Regions from separate parts of the Homo sapiens genome. Here region 1 is linked to region 2. The links are contacts of gene promoters, found by promoter capture Hi-C in human tissues and cell types (Jung and others, 2019). All regions are on one chromosome and are shown on one strand. The core of a region is centred on a gene start or on the middle of the fragment in contact, and the rest is flanking DNA. Distances in the headings are between cores, read along the strand shown.

Region 1 (5,729 bases), core at 1,881-4,380, 1.3 Mb after region 2:
CCAAGCTGGAGTGCAGTGGCGCGATCTCAGCTCACTGCAAGCTCCGCCTCCTGGGTTCACACCATTCTCCTGCCTCAGCCTCTCGACTAGCTGGGACTACAGGCGCCTGCCACCACGCCCAGCTAATTTTTTTGTATTTTTAGTAGAGACGGGGTTTCCCTGTGTTAGCCAGGATGGTCTCCATCTCCTAACTTCGTGAATGGCCCGCCTTGGCCTCCCAGAGTGCTGTGATTACAGGCGTGAGCCACCACACCCGGCCCCAAAGCTAGGTAATTTATAAAGAAAAAGAGGTTTATTTGGTTCACGGTTCTTCAGGCTATACAAGAAGCATGGTACCCATCATCTGCTTCTGATGAGGGCCTCAGGAATCTTCCACTCATGGCAGAAGGCAAAGGGGAATCAGTGTGTACAGAGATCACATGGCAAGAGCAAAAGCAAGAAGACAGGAGGAGGTGCCAGTCTCTTTTTAACAAGTAGCTCTCACAGGAACTAATAGAGCGAGAACTCACTTACTACCTTGAGCATGGCACCAAGCCATGAGGGATCCACCCCATGGCCCAAACACCTTCCACCAGGCCCTGCCACCAACATGTTGGGTATCAAATGTTAACATGAGACTTGGCAGGGCCAAACAAACCATATCCAAACCACAGCAATGGGGAAGATCGTCCTGGACCAAAAGAAAAGTTGTTCTGGAAACTGCAGCCATGAGAAGCCCTATACATTGGCAAGGTAGTTATCCTGATCTTTGAAAGTTATTTCATCCCCTCTGACGCCAGTGCTGATATTCTCAAGAACTCATGTTCCCAAGAGCTTCTGGTTATACAGGTCTAGAGAAAGCACAAATGGTGTGAACCTTCTGGAAAGGTACACATGTGGGAAAAAGTCTTTAAAATATTCATCTTAAAGGTCACAGGAGGCCGAGTGTGGTGGCTCATGCCTGTAATCCCAGCACTTTGGGAGTCCAGGGCGGGCAAATCACGAGATCAAGATATTGAGACCATCCTGGCCAACATGGTGAAACCCCGTCTCTACTAAAAATACAAAAATTAGCTGGGCGTGGTGGTGCGCACCTGTAGTCCCAGCTACTCGGGAGGCCGAGGCAGGAGAATCACTTGAACCCAGGAGGTGGAGGTTGCAGTGAGCCAAGATCGCGCCACTGCACTCCAGCCTGGTGACAGAGCAAGACTCCATCTAAATAAATAAATAAATAATAAAGGACACAGGAACTATCTTAAAGGGGTTTCCATTGGCCACATCGGAATTTGAGTAACGAAATAATGATAGTAATGGATTATAACTTCATAGAATGAGTCCATACTGAAACATATAAACAAATGAATAAATGAAGGAGAAAAGAAAGCTCTTTCTTACAGTGGCATTCCAACTAATAAATGTCGAGCGAATGCTGAAATTTAAAAATCATTTTCAATAGTTATTTCAGGTAAAAATCATCAATGGATGCTAGAATTAGTAGGCAGAAGTTAATTAAGAAGCACTATTGATATTATCTAGGCTGAGTGCAGTGGCTCCCGCCTATAATCCCAGCACTCTGGGAGGCCAAGGTGGGTGGATCACCTGAGTTCAGGAGTTTGAGGCCAGCCTGGCCAACATGGCGAAATCCCATCTCCACTAAAAATACAAAAAAAAAAAAAAAAAAAAAGCTGGGTGTGGTGGCAGGCGTGTGTAATCCCAGCTACTTGGGAGGCTGAGGCAGGAGAATCACTTGAACCCAGGAGGTAGAGGTTGCAGTGAGCCCAGATCATGCCACTGCACTCCAGCCTGGGAGATGGAGCAAGACTCTGTCTCAAAAAAATAAATAAAAAACAAAAGAAACAATATTTATATGATCTAAAGTATCTCCCCCAAAAGCTACTTGTTAATTACAAAGTGTAAAATAGTAACTTTTTAATAGAGAACACTGGCAGACAGCACCTTAACCAATGATCATAGTTAACACCATTGGTTACTGGGGCAAATTAACACTGTGCCTCCTAATGAGGCACTGAGGACACAACCTGGCTTCTGTTGTATTTCTCCTGCCAAAAACACAGAACCCAAATCTAATCACAAAAAAAAAAAAATAGGGCAAACTCAAATTAAAAAATATTCGACAGAACCATCAGTTTACAACAGGGGTGTCCAATCTTCTGGCTTCCCTGGGCCACATTGGAAGGATTGTCTTGGGCCACACATAAAATACACTAATACTAACAATAGCTGATGAGCAAAAAAAAGAAAAGAAAAGAAAAATCGCAAAAAAGTATCATGTTTTAAGAAAGTTTGCGAATTTGTGTTGGGCCACATTCAAAGCCATCCTGGGCTGCATGCGACCCATGGGCCGTGGATTGGGCAAGTTTGGTTTTCACTCTTTAAAAATGTCAAGGTTATGAAAGCAAAGACAGACTGAGGAACAATTACAATGAAAAGAGACTAAAAAGATTACGACTAAAGACAATGTATGATTCTAGGTTGGATTCTGGACCAGAAAATAGGGCACTAGTAGGAAAATTGGCAATATTTGATCAATAGATCAATATTTGCAATATTGGCAATGTCTGGTCGATAGATTACAGTATTGGTCAATATGTTAAATTCTCTGACTTTGGTAATTATATTGTGGATATGTAAGATAACGTCCTTGTTTTTAAGTAATATATACTGAAGTACTTACAGGTAAAGAAACAATGACTGCAACTTACTCTCGAGCAGAGCAGAAAAGACACCACAAAAAGTGAAAAAGCAAGTGTGGTGAAATGTTAACATTTGGTGAATCTGGGTGAAGGATATATAAAATTTCTTCACACAATTTTTGCAACTTTTTTGTAAATCTGAAATTATTTCAAAATGAAAATTTCTTTAAAAGTCCACTTCAGGTTCTTTATTATTTTTCTTATGTCACTGAAAAGGGTTGACTAGTGTCTCCCCAAAATTGATGTCCACCTAGAACCTCAGAATGTAATCTTATTTGGAAATAGGGTCTTTGCAGATGTACTTTGTTAAGATGAGGACATACTGGGTTAGGGCAGGCCCTGGTATCCTTAGAAGACATACACATACAGAGAAAAAGGCCATGTGAAGATGGAGGCAGAGACAAGTGATGCAGCTACAGGCCAAAGAAAACCAAGGATTGCCGGGAACCACCAGAAACTACAAAGAAACAAGGGTGGACTTAGAGAAAGCATGGCCCTGCTGTCATCTGGATTTCAGACTTCTAGATTCCAGAAATGTGAAGGAGTAATTATTTGTTGTTTTAAGCTACCAAGTTTGTGGTAATTTGTGACAGCAGCCCTAGGAAACCCTAGGAATTACAGTCACCCACTTTTAAAACAATGGCGCTCTGGTCTACAAGACGCCATAGTCTGGCATCCTCAAGTGTCTGAAGATGCTAATAATGATAACGTTTATTGGACATTTACACACCTAACACTGTGTTAAGTGTATTATATACATTATTTCCTTTAACCTTCATATCTGAATACACTAGGCTTAATTACTAACTCATTACAGAAGGGAACATGGAAGCTTAGAGTGGTTAAGTAAGATGTGTAAGATTGCACAGCTAATAGAGGATGTCAGCATTGAACACCATCTCTTGGGCCTCTTCCTCTTTGTCTTTCTTTTTTTCTTTTACCCTGAAACAGGGTCTTGCTGCTGTTGCCCAGGTTGGAATGCAGTGGAACAATCATAGCATACTACAGTCTTGAACTCCCGGGCTCAAGCGATCCTCCTGTATCAGCCTCCCAAGTAGTTGGGTCTACAGGTGCACCACTATGCCAGGCTTCCTCTTTGTCCTTTAAAACCTTCTCCCATCCAAAGTGCAGCCCACATTCCCTGTCCTCTAAAAATTTTCCAGGGCCTTCTAGGCCACAGTGGTCCATCTTTCTTCTTTAAACTTGGCACTCATTGTACTGTTGCTTGGCTCTAAAATATACTGAGGATTATTCTGGATGTCATTTGGCTTTTTAAAACATTGTCTTTGCCTCCAACTGAATATTAATTACATGCAGGTATGTGCCACGTATCTAAGCATTGAGACTTCACCTACCCTTATTTCTCTAGGTAGAAACCTATCATTATAGTCCTCATCAGATTATATGCAAGTAGATGCTTGACATTTGCAATTTGACTGTTTTCAAATAAGTTGGAAGTTTATCTGAGACTCTTGATTTCAATTGCGTGTGTAAAAGAAGTCAGCTAGGGGCTGAGAGCCCGGCTAATCAATTTAAATGTGGCTTTATTTGTTCATTGTTGGTCTATGTTGTATTAATTTTTGTTAAATGACTAAAATTTGGTTTGAAAGGTCCATGAAAATAACACATCTGGGGCAGAAAATCATTTTGGGCAAGAAATTAAATTTTGTAATTTAGGGTGGAAAACTGAGCCTCACAGTGAGATTTATGTGCCGGGCCCTCTGTACAAAGATATGATGTGTCATGTGCTCTGTTAAGTGCTCTAGCAGTGTAAAAGTCACTGAAGTGAGAAATTCGTTTGAAAAGGTTTAGCTATATGGTGGTTCACTACTGATTTGGGGCACAGAAAACAATCTGATTTAACTGACCCAGGAGCCTAGTCAAACAATGCCACATTCACAGATTTGGTGATTCACATTGTCTTGGAATATTCCGTGAGATATCAGGTGTCAAGAGCCAAGTAAGTAACATCAATGAGCAAAAGGGCAGAATTCAAGAAAATAGCATCAGCACACTGATACCTGCCAACTGACACCTGCACCTGGCTTCAGTGTTACACAATTAACAGGGGGTGGAGGGAATCGTCACGCACTGCAGCATGCAGCCTCACCCGGATGGCTACTGGATGCTAGTTAACTGTGGCCTGGAGTATTGTGGATCTCATGTTTTTTTTGTTGTTGTTGTTGTTGTTGTTTTAAGTCTCGCTCTGTAGCCCAAGTTGAAGTGCAATGGCACGATCTTGGCTCTATGCAACCTCCGCCTCCTGGGTTCAAGTGATTCTCCTGACTCAGCCTCCCGAGTAGCTGGGATTACAGGCATGTGCCACCACGCCCGGCTTTTTTTTTTTTTTTCAACAGTCTTGCTCTGTCACCCAGACTGGAGTGCAGTGGCACGATCTCGGCTTACTGCAACCTCCACCTCCTGGGTTCAAGCAATTCTCCTGCCTCAGCCTCCTGAGTAGCTGGGATTATAGGCACCCGCCACCATGCCTGGCTAATTTTTTGGTATTTTTAGTAGAGATGAGGTTTCGCCATGTTGACCAGGCTAGTTTGGAACTCCTGACCTCAAGTGATCCGCCCACCTCAGCCTCCCAAAGTGTTAGGATTACAGGCATAAGCCACAGTGCCCAGCCGTATTTTTATTTTTTAAGAGCAGCTAGAAGTCTAGGTTTTTAATGTAAACATTTCCAATTAAAAAATATTATCAGCCAGTTCATTTATAACAAACATTGTACAACTCAAACAAAATACATGTGCAGGCCAGGATTTGGCTCAGGGCCCACCAGTTTGCTACCCCTAGGATGTTGTTTACATCTATGAACTCCAGGAACCTAGTCCTCTCTTTGTAACAGGTACAGATATTCATGGAAGGGTGATTGGACATGCCCATATGAAAGACAAGAAAGTGTGAATGATGATGAAGGCTTTAAAAAGAGTCACTCAGAGAATTGGTAGTATGTTAAATTCATTCATTCCTCAAGTAATATTTATTACATACCCTAATATGGGCCAGACACTCATAGGATTAGGTGAGGGA
Region 2 (5,712 bases), core at 1,399-3,898:
GTATGATGGTTGGGGGGGGCCTGTAATCCCAGCTACTCGGGAGGCTGAGGCAGGAGAATTGCTTGAACCCAGGAGGTGGAGGTTGCAGTGAGCTGAGATTGTGCCACTGCACTCCAGCCTGGGCAACAAGGGCGAAACTCCATCTAAAAAAAAAAAGAAAAATAAAAAGTGAGTGTCAATAAGAAGTTTGGGAAAGAAGTTTTGTTTTGAACTTGTTGAGTTTGGGGCCTAATATGACACTGACAATTGAACTGAGGATGAATATAGTTATCTGGGTCTGGAGCACAGAACAGAGTTGTTAAAACATAGAGCATATTAAGGGTATTTTAACAAGTCCGTATTTTATTTATTTATTTATTTTGAGGTGGAGTTTCACTCTTGTTGCCCAGGCTGGAATGCAGTGGCACGATCTTGGCTCACTGCAACCTCCACCTCCCAGGTTCAAGAATTCTCCTGCCTCAGCCTCCCAAGTAGCTGGATTACAGGTGTCCACCACCACACCTGGCTAATTTTTTGTATTTTTAAGTAGAGACAGGGTTTCACCATGTTGGCCAAGCTGGTCTCGAACTCCTGACCTCAGGTGATCCACCTGCCTTGGCCTGTCAAAGTGCTGGGATTACAGGTGTGAGCCACCGCACCTGGCCAACAAGTCTGTATTTTTAAACAAGTGCTCCAAGGAAGAGTAAGATGAGAAAAGGATTAGGAATAGAAATACTGAAGAAATCCAACACTTAAAGCTCCTGAAGGCCAGACATAGGAAAAGGAGCTAGCAAAGGCAACCAAGAGCAATCACAGAGATAAAAAGACAACTTTTTGGTGCATTTTAAGGAAAATCCAGTTTCAACAAAGAGGGATGGGTCAATAGAGTCAGAAGCTAAAGAAGAAAGAATATCAGGATCCTATATTGTGTGCATGCCAACATTCTTAGCCATTAAGCACAGGTGACCACTAGAATTTATTTATTTATTTGTTTATTTTGAGATGGAGTTTCGCTGTTGTCACCCAGGCTGGTGTGCAATGGCATGATCTTGGCTCCCTGCAACCTCCACCTCCCGGGTTCAAGCGATTCTCCTGCCTCAGCCTCCCGAGTAGCTGGGATTATAGGCGCATGCCACCACGCCTGGCTAATTTTTGTATTTTTAGTAGAGACAGGTTTCATGATGTTGGCCAGCCTGTTCTGGAACTCTGACCTCAGGTAATCCACCCGCCTAGGCCTCCCAAAGTGCTGGGATTACAGGTGTGAGCCACCACGCCCAGCCTAGAATATATTTAAACTAAGCATTGTTTAAGATAGATGGGACTTAGCCAATCCTTAATGCCAGTATATCACATCACATTCCACTCCATTAGGGGTGGATGTTTATGTAAGTTGAGGTTCTCCTATTGGTTACTGCACTCTTCTTTAGATTGTGCATACAGACCTACCCAGAGAAGCCAGTATCCATGGCTTTGGAGAGTTCAAATATTCAATTTTCCGTTCAAAAAAAGGTAAGCGAAATACTTAAGTCTCAGGCCCACTAGGACCTTAAGCCTTTCGTTTTTGTAAATATTTCACTAATAAACTGTCTACACTTTCCCAGATTGGGCAGGCCTTACATTCTATATATACTGAGAGGCACATTATCTCACTAAGCCTCAATTTCCTCATTTGTAAAAAGGATAAGAACATCAATCCTACCTTACTACTTTCACGGGATTGGTTAAAGTTAGCTTTTAAAGTATTTTCTCACTCTGGCTCCTTAATACCCTAGCTACAGTCTGACACAAGAATGACTGCAGCAAAATGTTGGCTGTATTATAATAAAAATATTTGTGGAAAGGCTTTGTTAGCTGGAAGCCATCTCAAGTATTATTCTTTATACCCCAATCTCGATTTAGGCCTCTAGGTAACCAAATTCAAAGTAACACCTCATCATCATGATGGTTGCCAAGGGGTAGGTGGAGGGACTGCAGCCCCTTCCCCACAAACAATTCCAATAAAAACACTGTTGTGCAAACAGAGCTTCACGACCAGTTCCCTGGGCCAGCTGCTCACCAGATTACCACTCCCAAACTCCCTTTTCTTTGGAAATACTGCACCTGCTGTATTTGTGGGGAGCTGTATAACTTTTGAAGTATCTAAGTGATCAGTTCCTACAATGACATCCTTGAGATATGGCCACGGAACTTTCCAAAGCAGCCTTGGCCTCCTTCATGTCCAGCAACCTGAGATAAGGCCACGCCACCGGCTAAGAGTTCCGCCAGGGGCCCAGCTCTCAGGAGGCCTCTTCGGTGCCGCCAGCCTCCCGAAGTCATCCAAGGTAGCAGGCAAATCCGGCAGCAGCAAACTAGCTCGGATTCGGCTTCGGTTTTTCTCCTGGCCGGCGCCACAGGCCCCTCCTCCGGGGCGGGCTCCTCGGTGCGAGGGCAGGAGGGGCGGAGCCGGTGGATGCCGCGGGCTCCTCCTCCCAAGGGCGGGCCGCGGGAGACCCGGCCGGCTTTGCCGGCGGGGACCGGGCTGGGGGCGGGGCCGGGCGCCGCGAGCCCCTCCTCTCGAGGGCCGGCCGGTTTGGCGGCGGCTGCGGAGGGTATCTGAGGCTCGGCTGCCAAGCCGAACGGGCTCTGGCTCCTCCCAGTGGCCGGCCGGGGCGGAAGCAGGAGGCGGGGGCAGCGTGCGCGCTGCTGGTCTTCTCTCCCGCGGCGCTGGGGCCCGCGCTCCGCTGCTGTTGCTCCATTCGGCGCTTTTCTGGCGGCTGGCTCCTCTCCGCTGCCGGCTGCTCCTCGACCAGGCCTCCTTCTCAACCTCAGCCCGCGGCGCCGACCCTTCCGGCACCCTCCCGCCCCGTCTCGTACTGTCGCCGTCACCGCCGCGGCTCCGGCCCTGGCCCCGATGGCTCTGTGCAACGGAGACTCCAAGGTCAGCGTGGGGGTCCCTGCAGCACCGCATCCCGGCGGAGGCGAGGCTCCCGGACCGGGGAGCCACCCCGCGAGGCCCTTCCCCACCCCCTTCCCCCAGCCCGTCCGCGCAGCCCTGCGCCCCGGGCAGCCACGCGTCGTAGAGTCCCTGGTCGGGGCCTGTGGCATGTTTTATCTCGGGAGCGGCGATGCTTTGTTGATCTTGTCTGCGTGTCGAGGTCCGGGCGTCGGGGAGGGCATCAGCTCCCCGCGGCCGCGTCGCTGGCCCCCGCCTCCCCCGCGCCGCTGTGGGGCGCAGAGCCCGCGAGCGCGGCGCGAGGGTGGGGGTAGGGCGGCGAGCGGGCTTGTGTGTCTGCGTGTCGGGGTGGGGGCTTCCTCGGCTCCCACCCCGTCCCTCTGGGAGGCTGGGGGCCCGTTGTGGCGATCCCGGGGCCCGCCGAAGGCAGGGCAGGGTCGGGGCCTCCTGTGCGGCGTTGGAGCTGGGCCGGCCTCTGGTCTTCCCGCCACCCCGTTTCCCGCCTGCCCTCGGCGAGGCCCGCTCCATTCCCCCCGCCAGCCTTGGGCTCCGCGGCGGTTAGGCCGGTTCTGGACGAACCCCTCGGAGCTGCACTGTCTTCCCCCTCCCCCAACGCCCCTGCAGGCCCGCGTGAGGGCTGGTGGCCCCAGGGTCGCGCACTCCGTTCTCCCTCCCCGCTTCCTTCTCAGAGAGGAAAGGGTGTGTGTCCAGGTCCCGCCCCCGTCCAGCTTGCTCCCTGTCGAGCTTGCTGGTTTGCGGGGTAACCCGCTTCCCCGCCTTTGGGGTCCCTCCCCGGGACGCGAGCCGTGCCAGCTCGCCCGAGGCCTGGGCAGTCCGGAGTTCCGGAGTGCTGGAAAAGTTGCCGCCTTGACGTACCCGGCGGGGAGAGCACGTTTGACCGCTGCTGCTCATCTCTCCTCCAACTCACTTTTCTTAGACCGTTCCTCTTACTTTCGTCCCGCTTTTGAATTGGGCACCTTCGCTTTCACCTCTGTATTAAAATTTTCATTGGCCTGGAGTTCTTTCTGACCTTCACTAAGTCAGTTTTGCCAGCGGGAAACCGTGCAGTTTTGAATTGCGATTTACTTCATTAAGATACACCTCCTCTGTACGCTGTTGAGGGCCTAGCTTTAGGAAAAAACTTAATTAAATTTCATTCGGGGGGTGGGATTGTATACTTCGAGGTGGATTTGGTGCTCTACGTCAGATAGTAGTGCCTTGTTCAGGCAGAATTTTAACATTCTTTTTAAAAGGTGCTGCTCAAGGGTCACATCTTAGGAGGTCCTCTTGAATGGTTGCTTAGCACCCGGTAATCATTCAAAAAGTATTTGTCGAACAATGAGTAAAAGATTATAAGGTAGCTGATTTTAACTCTTTTAAACCAAGGCACCAGTGGTGCTTAGGTCCAGGGAGCTGTTAAGACACACAAACCTTTAGTTTCTGACCTAAGGAGCAAATGTAAACCCCATTGTCCAGCTCTTTCCCGATTACTAGTCGACTTGCAAAGCATTTTTCTGCCTAGTTTTGAGTCTTACAACTCATTGGAAAGATTCATCTTTATGCTGATAGATGAAATAACTGGTGTTAGAAGGACTGAAATTTAATTTATGGGCTTTGAAAAATATATAGTGCATTTGAGAGGAGTATTTTCACAAAACTAAGTGACAGAAAAGTATAAGATTTGTTTCCAGAGTATATAAGAGGATTTTTCTTTTTCCTAACTGGTATTTTTTCTTTGTTTTGCTCTAGTTGGAATGACAAAGATAATCTTATCAGTTTGCTATATTTGAGCCTAGGGTGAATTAATTTTATTTCAAGGTTCTTTATGTTTTATAGCATAATTAAACATTTTAAAAACTATGTTAACAATTAGTTGTGGACTGAATTGGAAGCATTTTCAAGAGGAACATCTGGAGAATTAATATATTTCATCAAATCTATGATTATTGTATGTACCCCTGAGGAAGAAAGTCCTGACAAACCATAACATGCCAGTGATCATAAACATTTTAAGTAAAGAGATATTAAATATGGGGAAATACCTTATATCACCTACTTTATTATGCATATTTCTAAGAGGCCCACCTGGAAATAAGTAGGAGTCTTATTTTCCATAGCCTACCACTGAACCACCTTTCCCTTGGGAGGAAAGGCTTACTTTGTACATTGATTGGGCCTTGGCTGTGTGTATCTTAGTTCATAAATTAAAAGTTGGGCAAGAGCTGGTTTTGATTCCTGTTTCTGGTACATTTCAGTTATCAGGATTTTCTAAAACGGCGTTTTTGCATGATAGAAACTGGAGAGGGGCCTAAAAGCTATGAAAGCATTTGGGTTATTTTAATTATTTTTTATACACAATATTTTATTTAATTTTTAATTTATATTATTTTTTTGAGACAGGATCTTGCTCTGTCACCCAAGCTGGAGTGCAGTGGTGTGATCACAGCTCACTGCTGCCTTGACTTCTTTAGCCTCCTGAGTAGCTGGAAGTACAGGCGTGGATCACCCCGCCCTGCTAATTTTTATTTTTTGTAGAGACAGTTCTCGCTGTGTTGCTCAGGCTGGTCTGGAACTCCTGGGCTCAAGCTATCCTCCCACTTTAGCGTCCCAAAGTGCTGGGATTACAGTAGTGAGCCACTGTGCCTGGCCAGTATTTTATTTATTTAAATTTTTTATTTCCGTATGTTATTGGGGAGCAGGTGTCGTTAGGTTACATGAGTAAGTTCTTTTTTTTTTTTTTGAGATGGAGTCTAGCTCTGTCGCCCAGGCTGGAGTGCAGTGGTGTGATCTCGGCTCACTGC

What was found. Contacts are between HindIII fragments. The study calls those that stand out against the background at their distance.
Region 1: a fragment that was not itself captured here is called in contact with the fragment with the promoter of GMPS in region 2 in 1 of the 25 tissues and cell types used here (ovary).

The regions. Positions count from the first base shown.
Region 1 is chr3:157,137,805-157,143,533 of GRCh38, forward strand. It overlaps a transcript of CCNL1 not described here. Among named protein-coding and RNA genes, the nearest start is that of LINC00880, 18 kb to the left of the region's middle. The HindIII fragment of the contact is 4,382 bases long and covers 940-5,321 here.
Region 2 is chr3:155,868,002-155,873,713 of GRCh38, forward strand. GMPS (guanine monophosphate synthase) reads left to right here and starts at 2,649. Exons shown (of 16, transcript NM_003875.3): 1 at 2,649-2,896. The coding sequence starts at 2,870. RefSeq lists enhancers at 2,094-2,143, 2,683-3,442 and a silencer at 2,284-3,503. The HindIII fragment of the contact is 29,940 bases long and covers 1-5,712 here.